Regions from separate parts of the Homo sapiens genome. Here regions 2, 3 and 4 are each linked to region 1. Evidence: promoter capture Hi-C in 16 types of primary human blood cells and fetal thymus (Javierre and others, 2016). All regions are on one chromosome and are shown on one strand. Each heading gives the region's core, a stretch centred on a gene start or on the middle of the fragment in contact. The rest is flanking DNA. Distances are from core to core; before and after follow the strand shown.

Evidence for each region. Contacts are between HindIII fragments. The CHiCAGO score rates a contact against its expected background, and 5 or more counts as called.
Region 2: a contact is called between a fragment that was not itself captured here and the fragment with the promoter of CCNG1 in region 1, in 1 of 17 cell types (non-activated CD4 T cells). The highest score is 9.0, in non-activated CD4 T cells.
Region 3: a contact is called between a fragment that was not itself captured here and the fragment with the promoter of CCNG1 in region 1, in 1 of 17 cell types (non-activated CD4 T cells). The highest score is 5.5, in non-activated CD4 T cells.
Region 4: the fragment with the promoter of NPM1 here is called in contact with the fragment with the promoter of CCNG1 in region 1 in 1 of 17 cell types (non-activated CD4 T cells); the score reaches 13.6 in non-activated CD4 T cells.

What each region holds. Positions count from the first base shown.
Region 1 is chr5:163,436,210-163,438,968 of GRCh38, forward strand. It overlaps CCNG1 (cyclin G1), which reads left to right and starts at 1,386. Exons shown (of 7, transcript NM_004060.4): 1 at 1,386-1,595. It also overlaps a transcript of LOC105377700 not described here. RefSeq lists enhancers at 991-1,040, 1,482-2,059, 1,751-1,950 and a silencer at 1,231-1,310. The HindIII fragment of the contact is 4,161 bases long and covers 121-2,759 here.
Region 2 is chr5:169,587,669-169,590,609 of GRCh38, forward strand. SPDL1 (spindle apparatus coiled-coil protein 1) reads left to right here. Exons shown (of 12, transcript NM_017785.5): 2 at 726-907. The coding sequence starts at 749. Among named protein-coding and RNA genes, the nearest start is that of SPDL1, 5.4 kb to the left of the region's middle. The HindIII fragment of the contact is 1,115 bases long and covers 694-1,808 here.
Region 3 is chr5:168,589,655-168,592,413 of GRCh38, forward strand. No RefSeq gene overlaps it. Among named protein-coding and RNA genes, the nearest start is that of PANK3, 12 kb to the left of the region's middle. The HindIII fragment of the contact is 1,556 bases long and covers 677-2,232 here.
Region 4 is chr5:171,386,293-171,389,252 of GRCh38, forward strand. It overlaps NPM1 (nucleophosmin 1), which reads left to right and starts at 1,557. Exons shown (of 11, transcript NM_002520.7): 1 at 1,557-1,714. The coding sequence starts at 1,657. It overlaps MIR3912 (microRNA 3912), which reads right to left and starts at 468; the gene lies at 364-468. RefSeq lists silencers at 1,838-1,897, 2,218-2,277. The HindIII fragment of the contact is 7,200 bases long and covers 339-2,960 here.

The DNA of each region.
Region 1 (2,759 bases), core at 136-2,635:
TAGGAACTAAAAGCCAAAAGGAGAAACTACATTTATAAACTCACACATTACAGCAAAAAGTATTTTTAAATAAAATCACTTGTTAAAGGTTATAAATTGCCAATTTATATTCACTAGGTAAGCTTTTATTTTCAAAAGGAACAAAGGCCTCTTCCCCATTTGAGCCCCAGTTTCTTAAACTGACCTGATTATGTGGCTAAGGTATTATTGTGAGGTATTGATGTTTTCTCCTGTTTTTCCTTCCCCTTCCTCCCCACCCCTTTTCCCCCTTTCCAGAGTTTTGTTCTGTGGCATTGCCTTGGGTAAGTACACGGCAGGGCAAATAGCAGAGTGACGGCAAATCTTTCAGATTTTCACTTTTTCAAAGTAAGAGAGACCGAACTGGGGCCATGAGAACAGAGACATCCAACTACTGTGTAATTCATAAGAGTTTAGAAATGACTCCTTGTGCACCCTTTTTCAGGCCCTTTTACAAATGGACTTTTCTCACTTGTGATGATCTGGGAGAGTGAGAGTGAGGAGAGTCTAAGAAGAGTTCAGGCTAATTATTTTCCCACTAATCTGGCATAGGAGAGGCTCACAGAGATTAAATTCATTATGGTAAATACAAAGAGTAATACTGCTTTACACTCGGGTCTGTAGACTGAGATTCACACTCACCACAATTATTCCTGTTAACAGTCTGCCACATACCTTTCATTTTAAGCAACTGAAAAATTGTACCAACTTTTCTCTTTAAATTTGCTTTAAAAGCAAATTCAGAAAATTGGTAGAGGGTCAAGAAATTACACAGTCCAACTCCATTATTTGATAAATTGTATAAAAAGCAAACTAAGGCAAGAATCAACTGACTTCCAAAGTTCACGAAGAGAGCACTCTGGAAGTTGATAAACCACCAAACCATATAAATTCCACCACCTCTTTATCTGTAATTAAAAATCAAAGGTTGACTTTTTTTTTTTTAACTACTCACTGTATTTTTAGAAAGATGGGGCAGAACCACTGTAGAACTCCTAAACCCCACAGAACAAACAGTACATTCTGGAATGATACGCCGGCCAATCCGGCTGGCAGCCGATTGACCTGACCCAGGCGAGGGTTGCTGCACCGAGTATTTAGTTTGGCCCCCTACTGAATGAAGACACTTTGTTAAATTCTCCAATGAGAGACGCTTAGAGGTAGGGGCGTGGAAGGGGGCCGGGGAATTTGAGGCCAGATAACGGGAAGTGTGAGCCGATTGGCCGGACTTCTCACTCCACGGCCCAGCCGTTTACGGATCGCGGAGGCCATCCATCAAAAGAATTACACCAATCAGCGGCGAAAATGCCCCCTTCTCGCGAGAAAGCCCCGCCCTCCAATATATTCCTCGTTAGGGCAGGCGCGGCCCCTTCGGCTCCGAGCTGACCCTGATCAGGGCCGAGTTGTCTCGGCGGCGCTGCCGAGGCCTCCACCCAGGACAGTCCCCCTCCCCGGGCCTCTCTCCTCTTGCCTACGAGTCCCCTCTCCTCGTAGGCCTCTCGGATCTGATATCGTGGGGTGAGGTGAGCAGGCCCGGGGAGGGTGGTTACCGCTGAGGAGCTGCAGTCTCTGTCAAGGTGAGTGGGACTGCGCGGGAGTTGACCGCCAGGTGCGGGTGGGGAGCTGGGTTGGGGGCGCGGGGCGAGGAGTAGGTCTGGCCCGCGCCCTTTTCCACACTAAACTCTACCGCTGTTGTGAGCACAAGCCCAGGCTAGTCCGAGGCTGGAGGGGCGGAGCCGGATCCGGCCTCCTGAGGTGCCTTTCGTGTCTGCCGACCCAGTCCCAGGGACTAGCCTGGGGAGGAAGAATGGAACCCCTGCAGTTAGAGGTTCCTCACATGACTAGCTCTGAAGACCTCCTGCCTTCCTGTCTTTAGTTGGTGTGGGAGGGACCTTCCATGTATCCAGGGCTTAGCTTGTGCCCGGGACATGGTTGTGTTATGCACACTTAAATCAATGGAATTCCCAGGTTCATCTTTCAGACTAGGTTAGCAACAACCCACCGCACCCCCCCGCCCCAATACGTGCTCCTAATGTCACCTTTTAAGTTTCCTTTCCTAACAACAATAAAAGTTAAGTAATATTGAGTATTGTGTGCCAAGCACTGTGCTATACTCTTTAAGTGGTGAATCATCTTGTTCAGTCTTCACATTCAGCGACAGATATTGTTACCCTCATTTTATAAATCTAGAAAGAAGCTCAAGCTCATTATTATTGTTCAGTGTTTTTTAAGCGTCTACTGTATGTGCTAAGCTCTTTACGTGATTTCATTTTAACTCACAAATCTGTGAGGTAGGTCATAAACCTTATCCCTACTTTATCAATGTGGAACTAAGTACAATTAAGTAACTTGAACAGTTCATTTTGTTAATATGTGGCAGAATACTTAACTACCATCTGCTTTTCACTTTCGGTATCCTGTCTTACGGTGTTTATTCGTGGTTATCTATTGACAGTGAATAACTTGAACAAGTATTTCTTGAAGATTTGCATTTTATTTTTCTAAAAAGCATGGTTCCGACCGGGCGCGGTGGCTCACGCCTGTAATCCCGGCACTTTGGAAGGCCGAGGCGGGCAGATCACAAGGCCAGGAGACCGAGACCATCCTGGCCAACATGGTGAAACCCCGTCTCTACTAAAAATATAAAAATTAGCTGGGCGCGGTGGCGCATGCCTGTAATCCCAGCTCCTCGGGAGGCTGAGGCAGGAGAATCGCTTGAACCAGGGAGTCGGAGGTTGCAG
Region 2 (2,941 bases), core at 1-2,500, 6.2 Mb after region 1:
TTCACAGCTGCCTTTTTATATTTTATGTGTTTATAGTACCCAGACCTTCCTTTTCTGGTGGTATTATTGTTATTATCATTATTATTTCTCAAGACAGTGTCTTGCTCTGTCAGTGCCATGATCATAACTCACTGAAGCCTCTAACTCCATCAATTTTCCTTCCTTAGCCTCCCAAGTAGCTAGGACTACGGGGGCTTGCCACCATCCCCACCTTATTTCTATTGATTGATTGATTGAGATGGAGTCTTGCTATGTTGTTCAGGCTGGTCTCGAATTCCTGGCCTCAAGTAATCCTCCCCAGTTGCTGGGATTACAAGCATGAGCCACCATACCTGCTACTATGAGGTTTCTTGATTACTTTTTTGTTATTCCCTTAATTTTGATTATATGGATAGTGGTCCAATTATGAGACCAAACTTACCTTAACATATTGGAAGCTTAGCATACAACAACTGAACAGTTTTCTGATGGTGAACTGTTTAGAAGCAAAATTAAATGTATTCTATTCCACTCTTTAATTTTTGATCCCAAATCAGTAACAGAATTGTCAGAACAGTTCTTGCTCTTGGAACAAGAATGCAAATTTGACTACTTATTAGTCAGGAAGAAAATTTTAATGTTTTTATACGACAGTAGTATTGAGTAGATATGTTTCTTCTGTTATTGATATTATTGCATGGAGTTTTTTGTATAAGCTTAAGTAGTTTTATTTCCTCTATTTACAGTTGGCTAAAAAAAAGAAAAGAACATGGAGGCAGATATAATCACAAATCTTCGATGCAGGCTCAAAGAGGCTGAAGAAGAGCGACTAAAAGCTGCACAGTATGGTTTACAACTAGTAGAGAGTCAAAATGAATTACAGAATCAATTGGATAAATGTCGTAATGAAATGATGACCATGACTGAGGTAGGACTCTGGACTCCTCTGTCTGCAAGAGTGTGCTTAGCTATTGAAGATTTGTCCTGTTTAGCAATTAATAGTAGTAGTAGTTTATTCTTTTCTGAAGATTTTAGATCTAGTTCCCGCCCTGCCCCGTCCCTGTTAAAAAAGAATGAACTAAATGAATTCCTGTTATTCTTTCCACCCTAGTGTATTCAGAGTTTGAAAGATCAAGTTATCATTACTCTCTTTGCCACATTTACTACCAGATTTTGCTTTGTCTGCACACTTCCTAGAAGACCTCACTTGTTTTAGACCTCTAAACATCTAAGTGCCCCATGACACTACACCAAGCCCTTAGTTCCCCCATGAAATCTAGGTTTGTGTTCAACTGCCCACTAATAGACTTCTCAAACTTAACACAGACAGAAGAGTGGATTCCCTGTCCGTTAACCAAATATTCTTTTACGATTTTTTTTAGCTTATTTAGTAAATATAATAGCATTCAGTTTCTTGAACACCAAAAATCTTTATATACCAAAGATTTTTGGTATATTTTTGGTTTCTTTATATACCAAAAATCTAGAACTTTTAGTCAATATCTTCCCTTTATTTCTCACATTTCACTCATTAATAAGTTCTAAGAACTAGACTACAAAGCATGTATCTTTGCTACTGGCACTGTAGTCCAGATCACCATCATCACTCCTAGACAAGTATTGTAGCCTTCTGGCCGGGTTGCCTGCTTCCATTGTTGCCATTCATGCCATTCATTCTTCACTCAGCGTCTAAGTGGTCGTGGAATAACACACCAAAGGTCATGCCACAGCCCTGCTAAAAACCATACAACAGCTTCTGATTTTATTTACAACAAAATCTGAGCTCCATCCTTGGGTTTGTAGATCCCTATGTGACCTGACCCCTGCCAAGCTTCTGACCTCACCTCAAACTGCTTTGCCTTGTTCTTGACTATACTGGTCCTCCCTTATGGGCTTTACACCAGCTATTGCCTTTTTTTTTTTTTTGAGTTGTTTACCCCTCACTGCTCTTGGGTTGAGTCCTCAGATTTCAGCTTTCATTTAAATGTCACTTCAGCGGAGAGGTCAGCCCTTACTATGTAATGTAAAGTTGCCCTGATTCACTTTTTTTTTCTTTTTTCTTTTTTTTTTTTGAAACAGGGTCTCACTCTGTCGCCCAGGCTGGAGTGCAGTGGCGCAATCTTGGCTCACTGCATCCTCCACCTCCTGGGTTCAAGAGATTCTCCTACCTCAGCCTTCCGAGTAGCTCGGGGTTACAGATGTGTGCCACCACATCCGGCTAATTTTTGTGTTTTTAGTAGAGATGGGGTTTCACCATGTTGACCAGGCTGGTCTTGAACTCCTGGCTTCACGTAATCTGCCTGCCGAAGTGCTGGGATTACAGGCATGAGCCGTTGTGCCCGGCCCTGATTCCACTCTTAATTATCTGCATTGCTAATTATCTCTAGATTATAAACTCCATGAGAGAGGGAATTTTGTATGCCTTGTTCACTATCCTGAATGCCTGCCACACGATTATTTCTTAAAAGAATGAATGAATAAATCTGGGTAATTTAGCAAATGCTCAGTAACATATTTAAACTTGAATCTCAACATTGTAAATATGGCAGGTAAAAAATATCTGTAGCAGGTAAAAATAACTAGTGATGGCAACCTTTGTGTTTCTACATAGTACTGTTGTAAACCAAGAACTGAGTGCAAAGTCATAAAGGCAAAGTAAAGATTACAAATATCACTAATAGAAAATAAAACTGTTATACTTAATCATTTTGAGTCATAACTTGTCAAATTTCAGTGTTTAACAGTTAATACTCTTTGTCTTCCTTTAAAATAAAATGGTTTTTGAGGGGAATATTTTATCATTTTTTAAAGCCTCTTGAAGGAGTTCGTACTTGTAACATTTTTAATGTCTAAACTTCCCTGTGAGTAAGCAAAAGCCCTTTTAATTACTCCTTTTGTCTCAGCTCTGCATTCATTCTGATAGACCTTTTGTGACATTTCTCAGATGACTACATTCTGAAAG
Region 3 (2,759 bases), core at 205-2,704, 5.2 Mb after region 1:
ACACCCAGCTAATTTTGTAATTTTTAATAGAGACAGGGTTTCACCATCTTGGCCAGGCTGGTCTCAAACTCCTGGCCTCAATTGATTTGCCCGCCTCAGCCTACCAAAGTGCTGGGATTACAGGTGTGAGCCACTGTGCCCGGCCCTCATAGAACTTTAATACTTTTATTTATATCATTCATCACGATGTCATTTAGTCTGACATCCTCACTCAGCTCAGAAAGCTCCCAGAGGGCGCGGCTGTCTTTTTTATTGTTTACCATTGTGTTCCTAACTTTTAACACAGTTCCTGGTACAGAGACAGTTCCGACCGAATATTTGAATAAACAAAAGAATGAATAAGCAAACCTTTCCTAACGGCTGCTACCACTAAAGATCTTAGCATGGTGTGTGTGTGCGTGTGTGTGTGTGTGTGTGTGTGTGTGTGTGTGTGGTGGGGCTATTCAGTAAGGCTAGAAGTGAAAAAGCTAGTAGAAAGCCCATGGTGATGGAGAATGGAGGAAGACTGATTAGGGAGCTCCTCAGCAGTATAAGGAAGGACTAAGAGCACATAAGGACAGGATCATAGAATTCCGCATCTCAGGATTTTTGAGGCTGCCACTGCCTTAGCTGTGAGGCCAGTGCATATAAGAATAGTTTGCACAGTTCTGCTGTGGAAATCAGGGCTTTTACTGAAAGCTTAGCCAACTAGCCAGCAAGAATAGCTTTCTGGAACTTAGAGCCTTGTGAAAATTCCCAAACTGAGGATAATTCCAAAAAAGGTTTTCTTGCTGGCTTTGAAAAGTAGGATATACTTTTTAAAACCCCTTCTTCATCTATGATACAGATTATCTGACAGTTCCTGTGCAGAAGTCCACAGAAGGCAGGAAAGAAGGGGCCAGGAGTAAATCAGGTGCCTCATATGAAGACCTCAGCTAAGGAATAAGAAGAGTAAGAAAACAGCACGTCTTCAAATAACATCATTTCCTTCAACGCCGTTTCATTATGTTGATGAGAAAAAAAAAATCTCTTCCCAGCTGGGGCCACTGTCTGTGTGGAGTCTGCACATTCTCCCCAAGTCTGCATGGATTTTCTCCAGGTACTCTGTTTTCCTCTCACTAGGATACTATCCCAAAGATGCACACCTGAGGTTAATTGGTGTGTCTGAAAGGTCCCAGTGTGAGTGAATGTGGGTGTGTGCGTGAGTGCGCTCTGCAATGGGATAACGTCCTGTCCAGGGCTAGTGCCTGCCTTGTGCCCTGAGCTGCCAGGATAGGCCCCAGCCACCCAGGACCTTGAACTGGATTAATTGGGTAAATAATTCTCTTATCTCTTTTTATTAATCTTTCCTAAATGACTGTATAGCTCACATTTGTTTCAATGTTTAACTTTTAGAAGTGTTTTCAGTCTTTATGAGAAGTTTAGTGATGATTCTGTTACCAGAACTATGCCATAGGAATTTAACTCTTGTTAGTATCAATTAGCCTATGGCCAAATTGGTTTCCTTATACATCGTTTTGCTTGAAGTTGCGTTTCCAAGATTTTATTGACAATGTTAAGTGAGGACTTACTGTACAGCGTGGGGGTCAGGTTAGAGCAATGCTATTCAAAGTGTGGTACACAGATGGCTGCTGATCCCCAGACTGCTTTTGGCTTCCAACAAGATATGGAGCAGGAGGTAAGTCAACTGCATCACTAATCATACTGTTTGTAGTTCAGCTGGTATTTTCTTCACAGTAAGACTTTCTCCATGAAGGTAGCATTGCATTGATTTACATTTTGACCCAGGCTGTCACTGCCCTAGGCTTGGACCATTAACAAATAGTTCACTGTAAAGCTGCTTTGAGCAGCTCTGGTTTGGAGCATGGGCTTTGGAATCAGTCAGAGTGGGCTCTACCACTTAAGCAAGTTCCTTAAGCTGCCTGAGTTCCCTAGTAGGACACAAGGAAGAGTGTGGATTCTATTTCAAAAGCAATTCAAAGCCACTGGGAGGTTTCAAGCCCGATCATAAAGTTTCTTGTGAACCATGTTAGAGTTTGGACTTTGTTCAAGGAAAAGGGACCCACCAAAGATTTAAAAGCAGGGGAATGTCAGGATTAGAACTGTATTTTGGAAAGTTTACTCTGGCTGTGGTAAAGATAACAGCTTAGGCGGGACAGGAGGCAAAGAAACCAGCTAAGGGAAGGCATTCTGGTGGTGGAATGAGAGAATAAATGTAAGAATGAGTGAATTCATAGCATTTACTAGATAACAAGCTTCCTTGTGGCAGGAGCCTCACCACCTTTTGCTATGGATGTTCTTCAGCACAAACTTTCAGTTTTTGTGCAAGTCAATTTTTAATTAACATTTAACTGGCAAAAATGACTAGCTAATATAAAATCAAGCTAGATTCTCTGTCCATTCTAGAGAAGTTGAGCCTTTGTGAGCAAGGCTGATCTCGCTCATGATACAGAAGTCTGTCTCTTTTACCTTGTTTACTTTTTTCCTGTTTACCTTCACAGCCACTGATCCTCAAGGTTAGCAGATGAGTAAGTTTCCAATAGCAGCTGAACTGGAGTGATTTCTATCTGGAACCAAACAAATAGCTAGACTCTGTTTGGAATTTCTGCTTCCAGAGTTATCCAGCCACAGAGCCTGTTGCACAAGGCAAACTGGCACTTGCCCAGCATGCTTAATAGAATTCTTAGTACTCTTACCTAGAAGTCCTATTCATTATTTGAGGCCATGCCAGTCAACACCAGCTCAACCAATATCAATGACCAAGTAACAATGAAGACAGC
Region 4 (2,960 bases), core at 307-2,806, 8.0 Mb after region 1:
AAGAGAGCGAGACCCCGTTTAAAAAAAAAAAAAATGCTGGCTGGGTGCGGTGGCTCACGCCTGAAATCCCAGCACTTTGGAAGGCAGAGACAGGCGGATCACCCGAGGTCAGGAGTTTGAGCCCAGCCTGGAGAACACAGCGAAACCCCATCCCTCCTAAAATACAAAAATTAGTCGGGCGTGGTGGCATGCACCTGTAGTCCTCGCTACTCGGGAGCCCGGGAGGCGGAGGTTGCATCCAGCGGAGATCACGCCACTGCACTCCAGCCTGGACAACACAGCGAGACTCTGTCTCCACACACACACAAAAAAAGGCATAACAAATTTAAGTGACTCAAAGCTTTATGTGACACAGGAGCTCTCAGAAAGGAACAGTTAAATTATAACATGTCCATATTATGCGTTAGTATGTGTCCACAACTAACCCATAATATGGACATGTTATAATTTAACTGTTCATTCCTCTCTTGATAGACACTGAAATCGTCTCTATAATTTTCCTGTAAGAAATAATGCCTTGGGGTGGGGGTGTCTTCCTTTCTGAGGCTATCATTTGTATTCCTCACTTCTTAAATTTGTTTGATATGTTGAGGCTTAAAAAAAAAAGATTACGGGTCTTCAGAACGCCCCAATGCCCGCGGGGTGCTGGGGTGCCTCGGAGTTTGTCAAGGTGTAGCTTAAAACGTTAATTCCCATGCTCGCTCCCAAATATTCGAATTAAGGCTTCTGTAGTTCTTACAAGTCACCCGCTTTCTTTCAGGAGGAATGTTAAAGATTAAGAGCGGCAAGAAGTCAGAGTCGGCCCACCCTCCGAGCTCTCTTAGGGCGATGTCCTTGCTAATTTGGAGACTGATTCAGTCCCCTTTTGGCCCCCAAGTTACGTAAAGATAAGGACTTTGGAGATGTTTTCTCAGGAAGGACAGAGCTGAAAAACAAAGTTCCGTAAGTCTGGCCGGTAACTACATCTTTCCTTCCTAACAAAGAATAAGCCGCAATTCACTCTCTCTGGCACCTGAACTTTGGGGTAACGATTAACTGCGATCCGAAGCCTTCAGGCAAGTAAAAAATTCCTGAAGTGATTACGCCTGTTTGGAGGCTTGCAGGGCACTAGGGGATGGGGAAAGGTGAATCGAGGTGCTCTCTGGCTCATTCGCAGCCGGCTAACCCGCCATATCTTACACAGCTAAGGGCTGCCGACGCCATTTTGCAGGGTGGGCTGCGCAGACTCTTGGCGGGAGGCCGGCGCGCTTGAGCGGGAGAGGACGTGGAAGGGTTGGAGGTGGGGAGTGCGCGTTACGACTGGAAAGCACGCGTGCGCACAGGCGACAGCAGCGGAGGGGTGGGGCCAGTGTACGAGTGCGCGTGCTCGGTGGGAGCCCGCGGAGTACCTGGAAGGAGGTGGGGGCGAGGTAGAAAGGAGTGGGGTTGAAAAGCGCTTGCGCAGGACGGCTACGGTACGGGGGTGGGAGGGCTTCGGAGCACGCGCGCGGAGGCGGGACTTGGGAAGCGCTCGCGAGATCTTCAGGGTCTATATATAAGCGCGGGGAGCCTGCGTCCTTTCCCTGGTGTGATTCCGTCCTGCGCGGTTGTTCTCTGGAGCAGCGTTCTTTTATCTCCGTCCGCCTTCTCTCCTACCTAAGTGCGTGCCGCCACCCGATGGAAGATTCGATGGACATGGACATGAGCCCCCTGAGGCCCCAGAACTATCTTTTCGGTAACTGCTGGGGGGAGCTGGAGCGAGGCCGAGCGGGGCCTGGTGGCGGTGAGGGTGGGGGTGAGGGGCGGGAATCCGGCTGCAACCGGGTCTGGTGGAGACCGCCAGACCGACGGGAGGCCTGAGCGGGTGGGAAGAGCTGCCTGAGCCCTGGACCTGGAGGGATTGGAGCCGCGGGGGGAGCCGGTGGCGTGAAGGGGGAGGAGACGAGCGGCCTGAAGCGTCTGGGGCGTGAGCGGTCCGAGGCCCGGGGCCTGAGGTAAAGTGGAACCGGCCGCCTGGAAGTTCGGCCTTTGCCGGGGATACGTGGCGGAGCTCCAGGCGTGGTTTATTTTCTAACGGCGGTGGTTCATAGGCTTCTGATGCCAGGCCCCGGGTTGGTGGTCCTGGAGGCTGGGTTCACCGGGAAGCATGGGCCTGCTTGTTGGAGCGGGTAGATGCACAGCCTGGCGTTATTCTGGCCTCAGAGCCTGGAGCTGCCGGACGTAGACTTACCTCGCGTGCTTCGGCCAGTTACTGGGGGTGGGGAGGCGCGGCGCGGCGTGAGGAGGCCGCAACCGCTGGGAGCACGTGGTTGCCACGTGGTTGGGGGAGGGAGGGGGGTGTGGGCGCTACATCCGGGACTCACCGGCGTGTTGCCACTCGTGAGCCAGGGATGCTGTGGCTCTGTTGAAGTGGGAAATGTTAAGAGGCTGGTAGCACTAGGGTTCTGGAGGTCTTTGTTCAGTGCTTACAGCATGTACTGTGATGGCAGCTCTCATTTTTTTGAGCCCCTTTTCTGTCTCACTGCGGTAGGTGGAGCTAGCCCCACTTTGCAGATGAGGATACTGGTGCCCAGAGATAAACTCACTTAACGAAGGTTGTACTTAGTAAAGGCAATAAGAGACTAAATCTAAACCAAGACGCTTGACTCCGTAGCTGCTGCTTCGTGAATATTAATGAGGCTTCGTTTTAGGGGGACGTCCTCGCATGCCGCCATTTGTGCGGCATTGACCAAACTGCTTTTCTAAATACAAGAAACACGTAGAGTGTTCGGTTTGAGTCAGATCAAGACCTAAGACTATTCGCAGAATTTTGGGAGCACCACCCCCCTCGACTTGCGGTAGTCCTGCCCCAAAAAGGAGAGTCCCACTTGGGTTTTTGATCTCAGTAGGATTAATTGCAGAAGCCTAATCTTTGTACTATTCAGACTTTGAAGTAAATGCAAATCCTACCGTGAATTTTATCTTGTTCATTATCCGTGCTG